7 separate regions of the Homo sapiens genome follow, and all the other regions are linked to region 1. Evidence: promoter capture Hi-C in 16 types of primary human blood cells and fetal thymus (Javierre and others, 2016). All regions are on one chromosome and are shown on one strand. Each heading gives the region's core, a stretch centred on a gene start or on the middle of the fragment in contact. The rest is flanking DNA. Distances are from core to core; before and after follow the strand shown.

The links. Contacts are between HindIII fragments. The CHiCAGO score rates a contact against its expected background, and 5 or more counts as called.
Region 2: a contact is called between a fragment that was not itself captured here and the fragment with the promoter of LRRC31 in region 1, in 1 of 17 cell types (neutrophils). The highest score is 5.9, in neutrophils.
Region 3: a contact is called between a fragment that was not itself captured here and the fragment with the promoter of LRRC31 in region 1, in 2 of 17 cell types (total CD8 T cells and non-activated CD4 T cells). The highest score is 5.2, in total CD8 T cells.
Region 4: a contact is called between a fragment that was not itself captured here and the fragment with the promoter of LRRC31 in region 1, in 5 of 17 cell types (neutrophils, total B cells, naive B cells and 2 more). The highest score is 7.8, in neutrophils.
Region 5: a contact is called between a fragment that was not itself captured here and the fragment with the promoter of LRRC31 in region 1, in 12 of 17 cell types (naive B cells, total B cells, naive CD4 T cells and 9 more). The highest score is 15.5, in naive B cells.
Region 6: a fragment that was not itself captured here is called in contact with the fragment with the promoter of LRRC31 in region 1 in 2 of 17 cell types (naive B cells and total B cells); the score reaches 5.1 in naive B cells.
Region 7: a contact is called between a fragment that was not itself captured here and the fragment with the promoter of LRRC31 in region 1, in 4 of 17 cell types (total B cells, naive B cells, naive CD4 T cells and 1 more). The highest score is 8.9, in total B cells.

Annotation. Positions count from the first base shown.
Region 1 is chr3:169,868,566-169,871,280 of GRCh38, forward strand. LRRC31 (leucine rich repeat containing 31) reads right to left here and starts at 1,370. Exons shown (of 9, transcript NM_024727.4): 1 at 1,068-1,370. The coding sequence starts at 1,242. The HindIII fragment of the contact is 9,706 bases long and covers 1-2,715 here.
Region 2 is chr3:170,321,747-170,324,461 of GRCh38, forward strand. No RefSeq gene overlaps it. Among named protein-coding and RNA genes, the nearest start is that of SKIL, 35 kb to the right of the region's middle. The HindIII fragment of the contact is 3,885 bases long and covers 1-2,715 here.
Region 3 is chr3:170,278,286-170,281,000 of GRCh38, forward strand. PRKCI (protein kinase C iota) reads left to right here. Exons shown (of 18, transcript NM_002740.6): 9 at 1,942-2,118. Among named protein-coding and RNA genes, the nearest start is that of PRKCI, 57 kb to the left of the region's middle. The HindIII fragment of the contact is 180 bases long and covers 1,280-1,459 here.
Region 4 is chr3:170,191,489-170,194,203 of GRCh38, forward strand. No RefSeq gene overlaps it. Among named protein-coding and RNA genes, the nearest start is that of PHC3, 11 kb to the left of the region's middle. The HindIII fragment of the contact is 3,214 bases long and covers 1-2,715 here.
Region 5 is chr3:170,170,889-170,173,603 of GRCh38, forward strand. It overlaps PHC3 (polyhomeotic homolog 3), which reads right to left. Exons shown (of 15, transcript NM_024947.4): 3 at 1,669-1,824; 4 at 485-562. Among named protein-coding and RNA genes, the nearest start is that of PHC3, 9.5 kb to the right of the region's middle. The HindIII fragment of the contact is 1,241 bases long and covers 704-1,944 here.
Region 6 is chr3:170,150,940-170,153,654 of GRCh38, forward strand. All of the region lies in intron 4 of PHC3 (polyhomeotic homolog 3), which reads right to left. Among named protein-coding and RNA genes, the nearest start is that of PHC3, 29 kb to the right of the region's middle. The HindIII fragment of the contact is 1,155 bases long and covers 778-1,932 here.
Region 7 is chr3:170,134,594-170,137,308 of GRCh38, forward strand. PHC3 (polyhomeotic homolog 3) reads right to left here. Exons shown (of 15, transcript NM_024947.4): 7 at 1,826-2,072. Among named protein-coding and RNA genes, the nearest start is that of PHC3, 46 kb to the right of the region's middle. The HindIII fragment of the contact is 181 bases long and covers 1,306-1,486 here.

The DNA.
Region 1 (2,715 bases), core at 120-2,619:
AATAAAGATTTATTGACTGCTGACTGACAGAACATAAATGCATGCATATGAAAAGAAAAGACTGAAAAGAATCTTAAAGAAATGATCGTTTGTGTTATAATGAAAGGAAATTCAGTATTTTCCCTACATTTTTCTGTAGTGTTATATTGCTTTTAACAATTTAAAAGTAAAATTATGAATCATTTAAAGCATGTAAGTAACATAATAAATGATTAGCACAGAGACTCATAGTTGAGTCTTTAGTCTCAAAAGTCTTAAAGTCTTTAGTTTAACCCATAAGATCACTTTAGAAGAAAACTCTAAAAAATAAAGAAACATAGAGGCTGGGAAGGGTGTGTGTGTTGTTGGTGGGGGAGGTGTGGATGGTTAATGGGTACAGAAAAAATAGAATATATAAGATCTACTGTTTGATAGCACAACAGGGTGACTATATTTATCCTTTGTTTACAAACAACCCGTTGTGCTCTTTTAGTTATTTTTAAATGTGCAATAATTTATTGCACATTTAAAAATAACTAAAAGAGGCCTGGTGTGATGGCTTACACCTGTAATCCCAGCAGTTTGGGAGGCCAAGGCAGGAAAATCACCTGAGGTCAGGAATTCGAGACCACCCTGGCCAATGCAGTGAAACCCCATCTCTACTAAAAACACAAAAATTAGCTGGGCATGGTGGTGCGCATCTGTAATCCCAGCTACTCGGGAGGCTGAGGCAGGAGAATCGCTTGAACCCGGGAGGCAGAGGTTACTATGAGCTGAGATCACGCCATTGCACTCCAGCCTGGGTGACAAGAGTGAAACTCTGTCTCAAAATAAATAAATAAATAAATAAAACTAAAGGTATAATGGGATTGTTTGTAACACAAAGGATAAATGCTTGAGGGGATGGATACCCCATTCTCCACAATATGATTATTAGGCATTGCATGCCTGTATTGAAACATCTCATATACCCCATAAATATATACACCTACTATGTACCCACAAAAATTAAAAATAAAAATATTTTAAATGTGGAAGTAAAAACAAAACAAATACAACAGCAAAAACACCAGCAGCCAGCAGCTTACCAGTCTCTGAGGTGGCTGTCTTCTGTATCCAGTCGCTGGGTTGGGAATCACTTGTTTTAAGGTCATTGTCCTCTTTTCTGCTTTCAGCATTGGAGCCCCTGAGAAATTTGTTGACAGTTGAAGTCTGGGGCTTAGTTTCTCCTTCTGAGGAAGTTTTCTTCCTTGTTTGACTCATGGTGAAGTTGATGGGGGTAGTTCCCAATAAGACATCTTCCTGTTGCTTTCTGTTTTCTAGGATTTCTAAGAAGAAAAGAAGATTCTGTCAAGCCTGTGTTCAATCAAAATATCCTCCCCTACATGACTGCCCCCCACTCCCTGCCGCACCACCTTTCTTTTTCTGTTTTTTTATTGCTGTTAATGTTTAACATGAAAATAAGAATGATGTAACCCAGGATCCAGAAGCCAATACAAACTCAAAGCAATTTGAGTTTTTAACTTTGCCCTATTTCATTGTGTGAGATACAAGTCATTAAGCATGACTTTGGCAAGCACATCAAGTGTGTCAACACATCTTAAATTACAGCTGTCAATTAGTTACCTGAAGACTTAATATGCCTTTAAAAGGGACTGGCCATTTGCAAAGCTGTCCCCAGAGGAGTTTGCCTTCAGCGACCTCTGCCTTCTGGTGACCCCCACCTCCTTCCTTTGCACATAAGCTCCTTTTTCTCTTTGCATATTCATATTTTCTCTACCCCCAACCCTGCACCACCACCCCACTGAAACATGTTGGCAGTAAAGAATTCATTCATTCCATAAATAGTTTTAAAGAATCTACTGTGGGCCAGTTAATGTTCTAAATGCAAAAGATTCAATGACGAACAAGAGACAGTTCTTGTCTTTGATGGGATCTTAACCTGGTGGGAAGATGGACCTGTATGCCATTGATTGAGTGGGACAAGAGCCAAGAGATGGGAGGTGGTCAGGGAACCCACAGTAAACTAAGCATGCCTTGGAGAACAGACTTGGAACAGTGAGTGACATTGCCTGGGTTTTGAAGGACTGCGAGTTAGCTTTTTAAGAGAGGGAAGAGTATCCCAGGCAGAAGAAAGGGTAAGCTCAAGAGCTCCCAGGCAGGAACGGCTGGAAGAGCCTAGCATTGGAGGTGGGGATGTGGGTCAGGGGGTGTGGAGGTTAGGGGTGAGGTCTGGTATGAATTGAAGCTAAAAAGGATTCGTAAAGGTCAATCTATTATCTCTCCTGAAATTTGCTTATATTTTATGGGAGGGCTAAGGACTTAAACTAAAGGGATACACAGAAGTGTTTTGTTTTGTTTTGACATAGAGATGGATTTTCACCATGTTGGCCAGGCTCGTCTTGAATTTCTGGCCTCAAGTGATCCGCCCACCTCGACCTCCCAAAGTGCTGGGCTTAAAGGTGTGAACCATCATGCCCAGCAGAAGTATTCTTGAAATTACAGTTTTCATAGTCTCCTCTCTAATAAAATAGCTCTTTCTGTAACATTATGTTCCAGAATGGTCCAAGAAACATTTTACACAGGGAATCCTAAAAATGGACCTTGCAGAGCCCACCTCCACTCGTGAGGGCTGGAATGTTCCATGCACTTGGAGCACTGCTTTGGAAGTCACAATTGGACATTCCATTTTTCTTTTAAAATCTTCCTTTCATATTAGAGCAGGGCCCAGCCCTG
Region 2 (2,715 bases), core at 90-2,589, 450 kb after region 1:
GGAGAAAAAACAAATGGATGGTTTAAAAGGAAATGTTTGACTGAAGCCTGCTTTCTGTACCCATAGCTACCTGCCCACAAGAATGTGGCTCCCTGGTGACAGCTGCACTAATTATAGAAAAACAAGTTGAGTGGAAGAAGATGAATTATGTAAATTTACATTGACTGAGGATCCTGCTGGAGCATTTAGGAATGTTGATTATTAAGAATAAAGTGAGGATTTTCTTACATTGAAAATCAATGAAAAGAGGAAGGGATAATTTGCTACAGTCTTAGAATAAACTCTGGATCAGCCAAAATATCATTTATTAATGTTACTGTAAATTTGTTGCAGGTGACAGCCATTTTGTGGATTTGAGAGAAACTATCAAGTGGGTTTTAGGCTGCAAATTTACCTTATTTTTTGTTTATATACGAAATGAAAGGTACCAAAAAAGTCACATTTTTTGTAACCCTTGCTGTTATGTAAAATAGAAGTCTCCAACTATCTCTGCTTGGCTTTATGCAGATTTCTTATTTTTAAATATCAACCTAGATTAAAAGCTGATGATTAGAAAATAAAGAATGGAAAGCCAACCTTCCACAAGAAAACATTTTTTTGTGTGTTTCCAAAAATGGTCCATATGAAATCAAACACCTTAATAAACATGCCTAACATGAATCTTTACACCCGTAGAAATGTGACAAACTCAGTTTTAGTGAATATGTTGCAAAAACAAATAAAACTGGTATTTAACATTTTTCTTAGTGAAATATTACTGAACACTTAATTAACGTGCTGTAATTTTAAATGAATCCATTTTCCTACGCAGACACAGTAGAAAAGCAGCTAAATTGTTTCAGTCACCCACTCACTGAACAGACGAAACAAAACATAAACCCAACCATGTATTATTTGTTACATATCAGGAAGGTTAAGGTTCTGCCACAGAAACCGCACAATTCCAGTTCGTAGGGAATGTTCTTTTCTCACTCTGCATCAGATCATCACACTTCCAGTAAGTAGAGAAAGCACTGTTACATCGGGGTCAGAAAACTGTGCTAATGCAAAATGTCCTGTGTTTACTGCCATTTTTAATTCCCAAATACGTATATTTTAGTGACCTACAGTCTAAAACAGAACAGCCAAGCCTTTTTCCAAATGCAGATCTCTCTCACAATTTGCGTTACACAGAAAACCCCTGGGCAGACAAAGGACAGCTTGAGGATACCCCAATGTTCACATTTAGCACTGACACAGCACTTTCATCTGTAACGTGCCTTACAAACATTAACTAATTAAAAGAAACAACACCCTGCAAGGTATTTAGCAGGATGTAAAAATGAAAATCTACAAGCAAGACAGCCAGAATGCATAAATCATGAAGTGTTAAATCAACATGACCTGAAAACCAGCAGGACTCCCTCCCTCTTTTCTTGCCATGACTGTCTTTTGGGAAGGGCCAGAACTTGATTTTATGCCACGCGAAGACGGGGAGGGGGTGATGTCTGGGTGGAGGTGGGTGGGAGGACTGTAATAAAATTCTAAGTATCACATTTGCAAAGGGGAAGTGTTCTACTAACTCAGAGAAGGGGCTTCAAGAATATAACCCTTTTAGAAGTGCCCCAGAGAATACAAAATCAATACAGTGTTTAATTAATCTACTACAGATTGACTTCACATAAAGCAGCCCCAACCAGGAGAGTTCCATGCTGGGAAATCAGACAGATCACGGTTGGAGAGTATGAGTGGCCTGTATAATATGCATTTTTTGTCCTTTCGGGAGATGGAGGAGGGCACCGTGACTGCCCTGTGGTCTGACTGCACAGACTTTGCTCGCTTGCTCTATGAAAGCGTCCTCAGTAGGTAACAGCATTACAAAACAGTAAGTGAAATGAGCTCAGTAGCTTTTAGAAGAGGCAATGAGTGTTGTTCAGAAGAATTTGTGGTTCGGGGCTCTGGAGGAAGAGAAGGATTCTTTGGCCTGATGGAAAGATGACTGAAAAAAAGGAAAAAAAAAAAAAAAGACTGGGATTCTAACTAGTTCTATGACTCCATTTCTTCATGTTTGATATAGTTTAATAAGCTCTACCTCAAAGTAGGTGCTAGAAAATTAAATGAAATGGACGTAAAAGTGCTTAACTGAAAAGTAGATGTTTAATGAGTTGTAATTCACTTCTTACCGCCTTGGGTGTACTGCGGAGATGAGGCAGGTTCAGTTATGTCTCAACCCCAAGAAGTCTGTCATCAGAAGCAGTTCTAGAGGCAGCACTTGTCTCATATATCCGCTAATATCCAGGACCTAATACCTGGGAGCTGTGTTGTCCACCATGGTGGCCATGAGCCACATGTACTACTATTGAGCACTTGCAATGTAGCCAGTCCAAATTGAGATGTGGTGCCACTGTAAACTACATGCTATATTTTGAAGACTTAGTTGAAAAAATGAAAAATATTTCATTTATAATTTTGATGTTGGTTACTTGTTGAAATGAGAATATTTTGGACATACTGGATTAAATATAATATTAAAATTAATTTCACTTTTTTAAAAAATTGTGGCTATGGAAGACTTAAAGTTACACATGAAGCTCACATTTGTGGCTCACATTATGTTTCTATTGGACAGCATTACCCTAGAACATAAGTCTCAAATATATTGGATCACATACTTCATCAGTTTAAAAAAAGTTTTAGAATGCATTCCCAAATATGCCAAATTTTTGTTTATAAAAA
Region 3 (2,715 bases), core at 120-2,619, 410 kb after region 1:
TCTTAACCTTCTCAAACCTGGTTTCTTTTCACTCTGCTGTATTTACCCTTGTGTGTTAGTCTGTTTTGTGTTGTTACAAAGGAATACCTGAAGGTTGGGTGTGGCAGCTCACACCTATAATCCTAGGACTTTAGACCGGGAGGATCATTTGAGGCCAGTAGTTCAGGACCAGCCTTGGCAACATAGCAAGACCCTCCATGTCTACAAAAAATAAATAAAAATTAGCCGGGTTTGGAGGCACATGCCTGTAGCCCCAGCTACTTGGGAGACTGAGGCAGGAGGATCACTTGAGCCCAGGAGTTCATGGCTGCAGTGAGCTATGTTCGTGCCACTGCACTGCAGCCTGGGTGACAGAACAAGACCTTTTCTTAAATAAATAAATAAATGAAGGAAGGAATAAAGGAATACCTAAGGCTGGGTAATTTATACAAGATTTATTTGGTGCACGGTTCTGCAGGCTGATCAGTAAGTATTGCACTAGCATCTGCTTCTCAGGAAGCTTTCAGTCTTGGCAGAAGGCAAAGGGGAAGCAGGTGTGCCACATGGCAAGAGAGGGAGCAAGGGAGTCAGGGGAGGTGCCACACTCTGAACTCACTCATTACACAGGAACACACCAAGCCATTCATGAGGAATCTGTCCCTGTGACCCAAACACCTCCCACTAGGGATCACATTTCAGCATGAGATTTGAGATTTGGAGGGGTCAGATATACAAACTATCACCTTGTTACCAAATCAAATTATTATTATTATTACTATTATTGACAGGGTCTCACTTTGTGATGCAGGCTGGAGCGCACTGGCACAATCACAGCTCACTGCAACCTTGACCTGCCTGGCTCAGGTGATCCTCCCACCTCAGCCTCCCAGGTAGCTGGGACTACAGTGCACACCACCAACATCCGGCTAATTTTTGTATATTTTGGTAGAGATGAGGTTTCTTGGCACATTGCCCAGGCTGGTCTTGAACTCCTGGGCTCAATCAGTCCACCTGCTTCAGCCTCCCTAAGTGCTGAAAATACAGGCATGAGCCACTGTGCGCAGCCTAAATTATTATTTCTAAGTTTTTAAGTTGTCATTCTCACTCAGTTTTTCTAATACCCTTCTTTCAGTTTTGTGCTTGCGGGTTTCTTTATCTTTCTCAAAATTTACTATTTGCTTTTCTTGGTATTCTTCACTTCAGAGATTTCATACTTTATTCTCATGGGTCCATTGTGTGCTGATGATTTTGCAGGCATCTAATAAAAGACTGTCTTCAGGCTTCTCTGTAAATTGCTAGAAGCTTACATTTGTAGTTGTGAATGAATTTTAAGGCTTACTTTGTCGTCCCAAAGGGGTCTTGGTATTCTGTGGAAAAGAATGTCTTCCATTCGCTGAACTACTTCATGCTTGTTTTCTGTCTATAGCATCCAAAAACGCCTCTGAATGTGTGCTCTCACTAGCTTACATTCTATGTATCAAGCTTCCAGCAGACTCTTTCATCTTGATGTCTCATTATAACTTCTGAATTTATCATGAAAAACCCAATCGTTCTCTCCAGTAACTTTGTCAATCTTATCCTAGCCACACACTTGACGTTCCCTGTCAGTGGTACCCCCAATCTCTTGGTCACCAAGGTTAATGTGTTTTTTTAATTCCTGCATCTCTATTGCCTCTGTACCCAAAAGTTATCGTATCCTTTTTAAGACATCCTTCGATGTTTTTGTGATTTCAACTCCCTCCCCATTCTTATTACCATCCCTCTTATCTCAAAATTCATCCATATAATCTGGATAGTTAGATTATTTGGTTTGGAATGACATTTGAAAAATATTAAGAACTTAAAATATTTTTATGTTAGGAAAATATCTTTAAATCGTTATAGGTACAACTAGGTGTTAGAAATATAATGTACTACGCAAAGCATTTCCCATTATAACTCTGATACAAATGTTCTCAACAGGCAATGAACACCAGGGAAAGTGGCAAAGCTTCATCCAGTCTAGGTCTTCAGGATTTTGATTTGCTCCGGGTAATAGGAAGAGGAAGTTATGCCAAAGTACTGTTGGTTCGATTAAAAAAAACAGATCGTATTTATGCAATGAAAGTTGTGAAAAAAGAGCTTGTTAATGATGATGAGGTAAGCACTGCATATTTTATTGCTTCTAAACTGCTTGAGAATACTATTCTTTTTTTTTTTTGAAACGGAGTTTCGCTCTTGTCACCCAGCCTGGAGTGCTAGTGGTGCAATCTTGGCTCACTGCAACCTCTGCCTCCCAGGTTCAAGTGATTCTCCTGCCTCAGCCTCCCAAGTAGCTGGGATTACAGGCATGCACCACTATGCCCAGCTAATTTTTGTATTTTTAGTAGAGATGGGGTTTCACCATGTTGGCCAGGCTGCTCTTGAACTCCTGACCTCAAGTGATCCACCCGCCTCAGCCTCCCAAAGTTGCTAGGAATATAGGCGTGAGCCACCGCACCCAGCCAAGAGTACTATTTTAAAGAAAACCTCTATGTTTGTGCTTTATTATCTCATTCTGCTTTTCTAAATATGTGCTAAGTAAATGAAATATATTATTTCGGTTTACTTTTCTTATAGATGGTATAAGATATTTAAAGTAATTTGATTATTAGATTTTTTTAAAAAAACAAAAATCAAACCACATTATTATCAGGAGAAATACTTGAGCTTTGTAAAAGTTTTCTAGACAGTTTTATAATACTGAAAGATTGACTA
Region 4 (2,715 bases), core at 93-2,592, 320 kb after region 1:
AGAGTCTCGCTCTGTCGCCCAGGCTGGAGTACAGTGGCACGATCTCGGCTCACTGCAACCTCTGCCTCCTGGGTTCATGTGATTATCTTGCCTCAGCCTCAAAAGTAGCTGGGATTACAGGCATGCACCACCATGCCCTGCTAATTTTGTATTTTTAGTAGAGGCGGGATTTCACTATGTTGACCAGACTGGTCTCGAACTCCTGACCTCATGATCCACCCACCTCAGCCTCCCAAAGTGTTGGGATTACAGGCGTGAGCCACCACGCCCAGCAAGAATTTTTTTTTGAGAGGGAGTCTTGCTTTGTCACCCAGGCTGGAGTGCAGTGGCACCATCTCGGCTCACTGCAAGCTCCACCTCCTGGGTTCACGCCATTCTCCTGCCTCAGCCTCCCCAGTAACTGGGACTACAGGCACCCGCCACCACACCCAGCTAATATTTGTATTTTTAGTAGAGACGGGGTTTCACCGTATTAGCCAGGATGTTCTCGATCTCCTGACCTTGTGATCCACCCACCTCGGCCTCCCAAAGTGCTGGGATTACAGGCATGGGCCACCAAGCCCGGCCCATTAAGAATTTTTTTTTAAGGCAGGGTCTCACTCTCTTGCCCAGGCTGGAGTGGAATGGCACGATCATGGCTCACTGCAACCTCAACCTCCCTGGGCTCAGGTGACCCTCCCACTTCAGTGCATCCCACCACACATGGCTAATTTTTGTATTTTTTGTACAGATGGGGCTTCACCATGCTGCCCAGGCTGCTCTTGAACTCCTGAGCTCAAGTCATCTCCCATCTTGGCCTCCCAAAGTGCTAGGATTACAGGCATGAGCCACCACGCCCAACCTAGCCAACGATTTTGTATGTAGCAAAACTAAGTTTCATAAATAAAGGAGAAATAAAATCATTTTCAGACAAACAAATGCTTAGGGAACTTGTCACTACCAGACCAGCCCAACAAGAAATGCTAAAAGCTGTTCTAAATCCTGAAACAAAAGGCTGATATGCACTAGAGTAGAACCTCTTGATGGCATAAAACTCATGGGGCATATAAAACAATAACACAGTGAATAAAACAAAGTATCTAGGTAACAAATAACATGATGACTGGAACAGTACCTCACATCTCTCTTTTTTTTTTTGAGATGGAGTCTCACTCTGGCGCCAGGCTAGAGTACATTGGCACAATCTCGGCTTACCGCAACCTCTGACTCCCTGGTTCAAGCAATTTTCTGCCTCAGCCTCCCGAGTAGCTTGGATTACAGGTGCCTGCCACCATGCTCAGCTAATTTTTGTATTTTTAGTGGAGACGGGGTTTCCCCATGTTGGCCAGGATGGTCTCCATCTCTTGACCTCGTGATCTGCCCGCCTCAGCCTCCCAAAGTGCTGGGATTGCAGGCATGGCCTTTTTGGGTTTTTTTGTTTTTTGCAGGGAGGGGACAGGGTCTTGCTCTGTCACCTGGGCTGGAGTGCAGTGGTACAATCTTGGCTCACTGTAACCTCCACCTCCTGGGCTCAAGTGGGCTTCCCACCTCAGCCTCCTGAGTAGCTGGGACTATAGGTGTGCACCATCACACCCAGTTAAGTTTGTGTGTGTGTGTGTGTGTGTGTGTGTGTGTGTGTGTATTTTTTGTAGAGATGGGGTTTCGCCATGTTGCCCAGGCTGCTCTGGAATTCCTGGGCTCAAGTAATTCTTCCACCTCAGCTTCCCAAAGTGCTAGCATTATAGGTGTGAGCCACCACCATACCCAGCCTCAAATCTCAATATTAATGTTGAATGTAAACAGCCTAAATGCTTCACTTAAAAGATACAGATTGGCAGAATGGGTCTAAAAATTGCAAACCAAATATCTGTTGTCTTCAAGGGACTTATATAACACATAAAGATTCAGATAAACTCAAGGTAAAGGAGTGGATAAAGATATTCCATGCAAATGGAAACCCAAAGCAAGCAGGAGTAGCTATTCTTCTATCAGATAAGATAGACTTTAAAGCAACAACAGCCAGGTGTGGCAGTTCACACCTGCAATCTCAGCCCTTTGGGAGGCTGAGGCAGGAGGATCCCTTGAACCCAGGAGTTCAAGACCAGCCTAGGCAACACAGCAAGACCCTGTCTCTATGAAAAAATTTAAAAATTAGCCTGGTGTGGTGGTGTGTGCCTGCAATCCCAGCTAATGAGGAGGCTGAAGTGGGACAATCACTTGTGTGTCGTAGGTTCAGGCTGCAGTGAGCTGTGATCATCCCACTCTACTCCTGCCTGAGCAATAAAGCCAGACCCTGTCTCAATAAATAAATAAGTAAATAGCAACAACAGTAAAAAAAAAAAAAAAAAGGACAAAGAAGATAATTATATAATGATAAAAGGATCAATCCAACAAGAAGATATTACAATCCTAAATTCATATGTACCAATACTGGAGCTCTAAGATTCATAAAACATTTACTACTGGACCTAAGAAATGAGATAGACAGCAACACAATGATAGTGGGGCACTTCAACACTCCACTCGCAGCATTAGACAGATCATCAAGACAGAAAGTCGGCAAAGAAAAAAATGGATTTAAAACTACACTCTAGAACAAATGGACCTAACGGATATTTACAGAACATTCTACCAGAGAACTGCAGGATAAACATTCTTCTCTTCAGCACGTGGAACATTTTCCAAGACAGATCATATGATAGGCCACAAAATAAGTCTCAGTAAATTTTTAAAAAA
Region 5 (2,715 bases), core at 74-2,573, 300 kb after region 1:
CTCCTTTCTCAAAATAAATTACCCTATCTTGAATGGATACTTGCAAATTGAACCCAAATAACTCATGTAAGCTGAAAGTATAATTTCTAAAATGTGAATTGCACAAAGTTAGAAATGCTTAGATGTCTACCAAGGACATGACATACTATTGTATATCACAGTAAATTCATGGCCAATATCCCTGCATTGTATATTTTAGGCTTTCAATACACACAGAAAGCTGAAACCACATAAGATCTGAACATGATCAGTGCAAATGGATATACAAGAAATAATACAAAAAGATTTTTTTAAGACTCAGATTTTCATAAGTTTAACATTAGTTCTGAATTCTTGAATTTTATCATTTCTATTTCTGGGCAATTGTTACTTTAAACAGCATGCAACAAATTATAATAACAGCTTCATAAATAACAACAGTTTACTTTTGGAAAACAATTCTTTAAAATTTTAAATCCAGGAAAAAAAAATTTAGGGAACTTACAGACGTTTGGGACATACTTGACTGCTGTGTGACACTTCCTGTGGGAGATGTAGATGGTCTTCCACTGGACAAACTTGCCTAAAATAGTAAGACTTTTAGAATATGTCGGTAAAAACCTGAAGTTAAGAACTTTCTGGTACCATGATAACACAAAACCACAACAATAAATGTCAAAAGGCCTATGTATGAAACAACTAATTTTATAGTCAACATGGCTTAAGCTTCGGTTAAACAGATTTTTTAAATAAGGAAAAGCTGAATGGTGAAAACAGGGGATCCAAAGACTAATCTTATTTTATTAGCTACTTTATTGTCAGTTTCACTTTATGGGTCTCTGTCATCTTTAAAGTGGAATCACTACTCCAGAGTTATGAAAAAGAAATTAGAGCTACAGCAAGAGCCAGTGAGTGGGTTTCAGTTTCCTAACTTGTATCACAAACATGTTATTTAAAAATTACACTACTAAGAAGCAACAGCTGAGAATCTGTTGGTAACAGAAATAAACCTTTTTCAGGTTCAGTCAATTGAGATCCTCCTCTGGTGAGGGGATTTAAGATTAAATCTTACACAGCTTTATTTAAATAGTACAATAGTAACAAAAATCTTTTTTAAAAACAAGCATTTAATAATGAAATCCTGTTATCAGTAGGAATAATATGATTGGATTTTAGAAAAATGGATATACCTATCTTTGTATAAAAAATTTCTGGAGAAATATGTATTAGATTGTTACTGTGGCCACCTTTGAAGAACGGGAAACAGTGATAGACAGGGAAAAGGAACAGCTTTACTTTATCTCTTATAAACAACTTAATATTGTTTGATTTTTTAATGAGTATAATTACTTATATAATTTTTTTAATCTTATTTTTAGTAAAAATACAATTTATGTAAGCCTAAGTACTCACTGTTGTACCTAGAACTTTATACACATAAACTAGCATAGCATTTCTTCAATCTGGATAAAAAGCACTGAGACAAAAGCTAGAAACAGAGTAACATAAAAAAACATATCCCCTTTTTCTCAATTAACTTCTATTCGGCAACCTATTAATATATTTCCTCCGGGAAAAATAACCACAGGACATCTGAGAACTCTGAAATAATACCCAATCTATTTATTTTCAGTAACTACCTACAGATAACAGAAACTTTGATCTCATAAACTCTTATTTTAGTCTTACCTGAACAGCAGCAAGGCTCTGAAGCTGGGAGCTGCTTAAATGCTGCTGCTGAAGAGCTGCAGTATGCAGCATCAAGTGCTGTTGTTGGGCTGCATACATTTGCTGAAGGTACTGAGCAGCTGAGCTGGGGGGCCGATGCAATGCCTGTTGAATTACCTGTGATAAGTCAATTGAACCAATGTCAAACCATAATCTCAACCTTTATCTTAATCAGAAAATCAAAGTATAAAAAAGTGGCAGTTTAAAATTTCACTGCTTTAATACATAATATCATCAAGCTTATTAACATTATTTCTTTCCTAGTTACATATCACTAGAAATCACTAACTTGTACACATTAAAACTACCCAGTGGGCCGGGCACGGTGGCTCACGCCTGTTAATTCCAGCACTTTGGGAGGCCGAGGTGGGCGGATCACAAGGTCAGGAGATCAAGACCATCCTGGCTAACATGGTGAAACCCCGTCTCTACTAAAAACACAAAAAATTAGCCAGGCATGGTGGCACATGCCTGTAGCCCCAGCTACTCGGGAGGCTGAGGCAGGAGAATCGCTTGAACCTGTGAGGTGAAGGCTGCAGTTGAGCCAAGATCATGCCACTGCACTCCAGCCTGGGCGACACAGCAAGACTCCCATCTCAAAAAAAAAAAAACAAAACAAAACCCAGTGGACAATTCGCAAAAGACAGGCCAGGCCAACTAAGCATTTCAAAAGATTTTCAATCTCACCAGTAGTCAAAAACTTACAAATTAAAACAAGATACTGTTTTCCAACTTTCAGATGGATAAAGATTTAAAAGAATACTACTACTACCTGGGGAAACCAATACTCCCATATTGCTAGTAAAAATTCAAGTTGGCATAACCTTTTTGGATAAAACTTCGTAGAATTCAGGGCTTGGGTGTGGAGAGAAATACCTTTACCATGCAACCATAACAAATAGTAATGTAGATCAGTGCTGTCCTATACAGTAACAACTAGTCACATGTGCCTACTGAGCACTTAAAATGTGGTTAGTGCAACTAAAGAATTGAGTTAATTTTAAATTG
Region 6 (2,715 bases), core at 105-2,604, 280 kb after region 1:
AGGTGGCTCCAGCCTATAATCCCAGCACTTTGGGAGGCTGAGGTGGGCGGATCGCAAGGTCAGGAGTTTGAGACCAGCCTGACCAACATGGTGAAATCCCATTTCTACTAAAAATACAAAAATTAGCCAGGTGTGATGGCACGCGCCTGTAATCCCAGCTACTCAGAAGGCTGAGGCAGGAGAATCGCTTGAACCCGGGAGGCGGAGGTTGCAGTGACCCAAGATCACGCCACTACACTCCAGCCTGGGCAACAGAGCGAGACTCTGTCTCAAATACTAGTAATAATAATAATAATATTTTTAAACAGAGAATAATATAATCCAACCTCAAATCATTTTGTGGAACAAAGCACAGAATACAATTAATAAATATTTTATTAGAAAAAAGAATACTTTATTGGACTTCTTATTCAAGCAACAAGGCAGACTGGACTAATACATCCATGTGACCAAACGGTATCACTGAAATGCTAGATCAACATGAAAAAATCAGAATATACAGCAGAACTCCAAAAGGGAGAGAAAAGCTGGGAAAGGAAATTCCTGGTGCCAGAAAGGAAGAAACTCAAAGCCAGAGAGATGTCACCTCAGCTGACACCAAGGCAGTCTATAAGGGTATCTTGGTTCTATAGAGCCAGAAGATCCATCTTTGTGCTTATTTCAGGGGAGGGCTACAAGTCAAATCCCTATTTTGAGCCAAAATCCTGAAAAGAGCTGCCCAATATGTAAGAAGGAGCTGGAAAAGCTCCACCCATACGTTCTGAGAAACAGCAAAGAAGCTTGCATCTGCCCTGCTCCTAGTGGAGGCAGGGAAGGAGGTACCTATGAGAATCAAAACTCCAGGCTTACACCAGGTAGGGGTATAGAATCCACATCCACACTCCCTGTACGGTTCCATAACCCAGCCCAAGACATTAACATCTGAACTAACCCAGGACACTTGTTAAACTGAATGGTGACTGGAGGAAGCTGAGTGAAGTTTATATAGGAGGACCTCTCTGTACTAGTTTTGCAACTTCCTATGATTTATAGGAATTTAATTTATAATTATTTTAAAATAAAAAAGTTTAAAAAACTGTATAGTAGGCACATGACAGTTGGTTATCTAATTCTCTAAATGTATATATATCACATATTTTTATTTTAATATAATAGTTAAATGTATAAATCAATGCATAAATACCACTAATACAATACAGAATTATTCTGTAATTTTGTTTGTTTTTGTTTTGTTTTGTTTTGTTTTTTTGAGACAGAGTCTCGCTCTGTCGCCCAGGCTGGAGTGCAGTGGTGCGACCTCAGCTCACTGCAACCTCCACCTCCTGGGTTCACATCATTCTCCTGCCTCAGCCTCCTGAATAGCTGGGACTACAGGCGCCCACCACCACGCCTGGCTAATTTTTTTTTTTTTTTTTTTTTTGTATTTTTAGTAGAGACAGGGTTTCATGGTGTTAGGCAGGATGGTCTCAATCTCCTGACCTCACGATCCCTCCCCCTCGGCCTTCCAAAGTGCTGGGATTACAGGCGTGAGCCACCGTGCCCAGCCTATTCTGTAATTTAGATCCTATTCCTAACACATCACTGAAATCACCTTAACAATAGTCACCAACATCTAACTGACAAAATCAGTGGAATCTTTTCAGACCATTCCCTCTCAGTCTTCTTTACCAGCTCTTCTTTTGCACCCACTCCCAAAATGTTCATGCTCTGTCTTTGACACTTTTCTTCTTTTTTTTTTTGAGACAGGGTCTCCCTCTGTCACCCAGGCTGGGGTGCAGTGGAGTGATCATGGCTCACTGCAGCCCCAATTTCCTAGACTCAGATGATCCTTCCACCTCAGCCTCCTGAGTAGCTGGGACTACAGGCATGCATCACCACACCCGGCTAATCTTTGTTATTTTTTGTAGAGACAGGGTTTCATCATGTTGCCCAAGCTTGCCTCAAACTCCTGGGCTCAAGCGATACCCCCACCTCAGCCTCCCAAAGTGCTGGGATTACCAGCATGAGCCATCGCACCAGACCACACTTTTCTTCTTGAATTCCTAGATTATCATATCTACTTCCACGGTTTCAAACAATTCAATCCTGATGACTCTTGATTCTTAACTATAAACCCTTTTTTGAAGTTCCAGATCCAAATACCTACAGAACACATCTTTCTGGGTATCCTTTACCAGCTCAAATTCAGCATGTTCAAACAGCAAACTAATTATTCCTTTTAAAACAGCTTCTCCTCAAATGGCACTGGCATTTTCTAAAATTCTCCAAGACACAGTATCTGGAAGTCATCCTGATGCTTCCCTCTCCTTTACCACACACACAAAATCAGTCACGTATCTTGTTTCTAATACATCTTTTTGTCTCCTAATTTCCATTTTGATTTTTCATCACTTAGTTTGAGACTTTGGGCCCATGTCATTTCTGGCTTGATTACTTTAATATCTGCAAACTGATACCTCTTACTGGAATCTTGTCACCTTCTACTTGCCAGATAATCTTTCCCTGATTATTAATATTAATTACCCATTTAAGAATCTTCTGAGGCCGGGCGCGGTGGCTCACGCCTGTAATCCCAGCACTTTGGGAGGCCGAGGCGGGCGGATCACGAGGTCAGGAGATTGAGACCATCCTGGATAACACGGTGAAACCCCATCTCTACTAAAAATACAAAAAAATAGCCAGGCGTGGTGGCGGGTGCCTGTAGTCCCAGCTACT
Region 7 (2,715 bases), core at 146-2,645, 270 kb after region 1:
ACTGCAATAATTCCCAAAATCCAAGTGGGAAAAAAAAATGAACTATTAATCCAACAAATATGTACCTCCTACCTAACATACGTAAGTACGTATAAGATACAACTTAGTGCTGTCAAGATACAAGGATGAAAAGATGAATCCAAAAAGGGATTAAAGAGTTAATGTAAAGTACTAACACAGTGCCTCACACATACATAAATGCCCAATATTATTATCTTACCCTCAAGGAGCTTACTATCTAGCAGACAAGCTAAGATCAGTATATAAGTAACTATAAAGGAAAGAGAACCAGAAGGGACCATAAAAGTTCAGAGGGAGGAGAAATTTCTAACTAGGGTAATCAGACAATGCCACAGTATTGAGATTCAGTGATGTAGAGAATGCTGGCAGTATTAACACAGGAAACTTGAGAAGTGAAATAGGTTTAAGTGGAATATTTTACACTTACACCTAAGTATAAAACAAGTCTTTAAAAAGCAAAGCAGCGTTGTAAAAGGACAGAAAAAAGATGCTTACCCGATGAGGTTGCTGGAACAAAGGAAGTTTTTTGTTTGTTTGTTTGTTTGTTTGTTTTTGAGACAGAGTCTTGCTCTGTCGCCCAGGCTGGAGTGCAGTGGTGCAATCTTGGCTCACTGCAACCTCCGCCTCCTAGGTTCAAGTAACTCTCATACCTCAGCCTCCCAAGTAGCTGGGACTACAGGTGTGCACCACCATGCCCTGCTAATTTTTGTATTTTTAGTAGAGATGGGTTTTCACCATGTTGGCCAGGCTGGTCTCAAACTCCTGACCTCAAGTGATCCACCCACCTCAGCCTCCCAAAGTGCTGGGATTACAGGCGTGAGCCACTGCACCCGCCCAGATTTTTTTTTTTAATGAAACATTTGTAAGGTGTATAGCCCAGTGCAACACACATACACATACACACACACTCAAACAATATATAGTTATAGTGATTTAGAAAACTATGCAGCTACATTAAGAATAAGGGAGACCTAATTATGGTTGAGAAACAAAGGAAAAGGTCTAGCATGAGAAGATAAAAGACGCTGTAACAATTATGTACTAAAGAAGGTCAGGAAATTTAAAAAAAAAAAGGTAGGATCAACAACAGGGGCAAATGGTGCTAAGTTTAAGAATACATGTAACTCTTTATCTTATCAAAAGTAAACAAAATTCAATCCTGAGAAATTCTGAGATGAACAGAAGAGACAGTAAGCTCACTCTGGATGGCCCCCACATTTTCAGTATGAGAACCATGAGGCAAGATTATCTGGATAAAGTAAAGGAAGCAAAGGTAGAATTCAAAGCTTGAGAAGAATGACAGTGACTCAGGTGATTGCCTGAGATGATCCTCTCAGAGATGAAATCAAAGGCAGAAAAAGACAACAACATAAGGAAAATAATTATGCATAATCCTATGTTTCAAAGTGACAAATTTCTCCCACTGATAACAACTTTAAACAAAATAGTATACTGCTTTTTTAAAAGCTTTAAAAATTATCCCACTGAAGTATATTAAATAAACTACAGGCAAATCTTTTTTTAAAGATAGAAGGTTTTATCAATATAAGGAGAGACCAGTGCTTAAAGATGATAATCAAATGTAATTTGATTTTAAAAAACCTATTATATTGTTACAATTTATTTTATCTTTTGGGCTTTTTTGTCTCTTTTCAAGCTACACATTAAGATTAAGTTTATAAAATTCACATTTTAAAATGTTTTAAAGGTGTCACTCCTGTTCAAGTCATGAACATCCTTTGTTTTGCTCTGTCTGCTAAGAAAATGAATAATACAACTATTTTCAACAAAAGTTTTATCCCACCTGGTGCTATTAACTGGTGAATACTTGATGTCCGGGTGACAGCTGTGCTTCGTGATTCCAGGCTTGGGCTCTCTCCTTTCTTATTACTTTCTGGAGAAGGATCTCGTTGGCTGATTTTAGAACTGGTCACTGTTGTTTTGTTATGACAAATTGTCAATGACTGAGTTTGACTAGTGCTTTTTGGTGGACCATTCTGTGAGCTAGATAATACACCCAACTTCTGGCTGCGTAATGTTAAATTCTGAACCTAAGAACCACATAACAGAAAATTAGGATGAAAACAGATGGTTTTAATTGATGTGGTCATCATTACCATTATGACAATACTGACAACACATTTATATTATGCTTTTCATACGTAAAGCTCCAAGCACTTGAAAGAACTGATTAATCCTTAAGGAAAGGAGAGTTATTATTCTAAGTAATCACATCTTAAATATTAAGTGGCAATTTTTTAAAAGACATAAGAGAAAAGAAAAGAGGGAGGGAGAGAAAAAAAAGAAAGGAAGAGAGGGAAGAAGAAAGGGGGAGGGAAGGGGAGGAGAAGGGAAGGATCATAAAGAACTAAATAAAAGCAGTATGTATATATATATACAGACAGTGTGTGTATTATATATGTATGAACTGTGAATATGAGGAAATTACTCTGCAACATACTGCATTTAAAAGTTACCAGTTCTAGCTATAGAGATTAAGGGGACATTAACCTTGTAAGAAAATTAATTCATCAAATCATCTGCCCCATTGTGAAAATTATGAAAAGCATTTTCAAGCAACTCTTTTAATTTAGTAAAATTTTGGTGGTGGTGTTATTGAACATTCACTGCCTTTGAAAACTACATCTCATGAACTGAAAAGACTCTGCATGACCCTGAAATGGCTTTCTATGG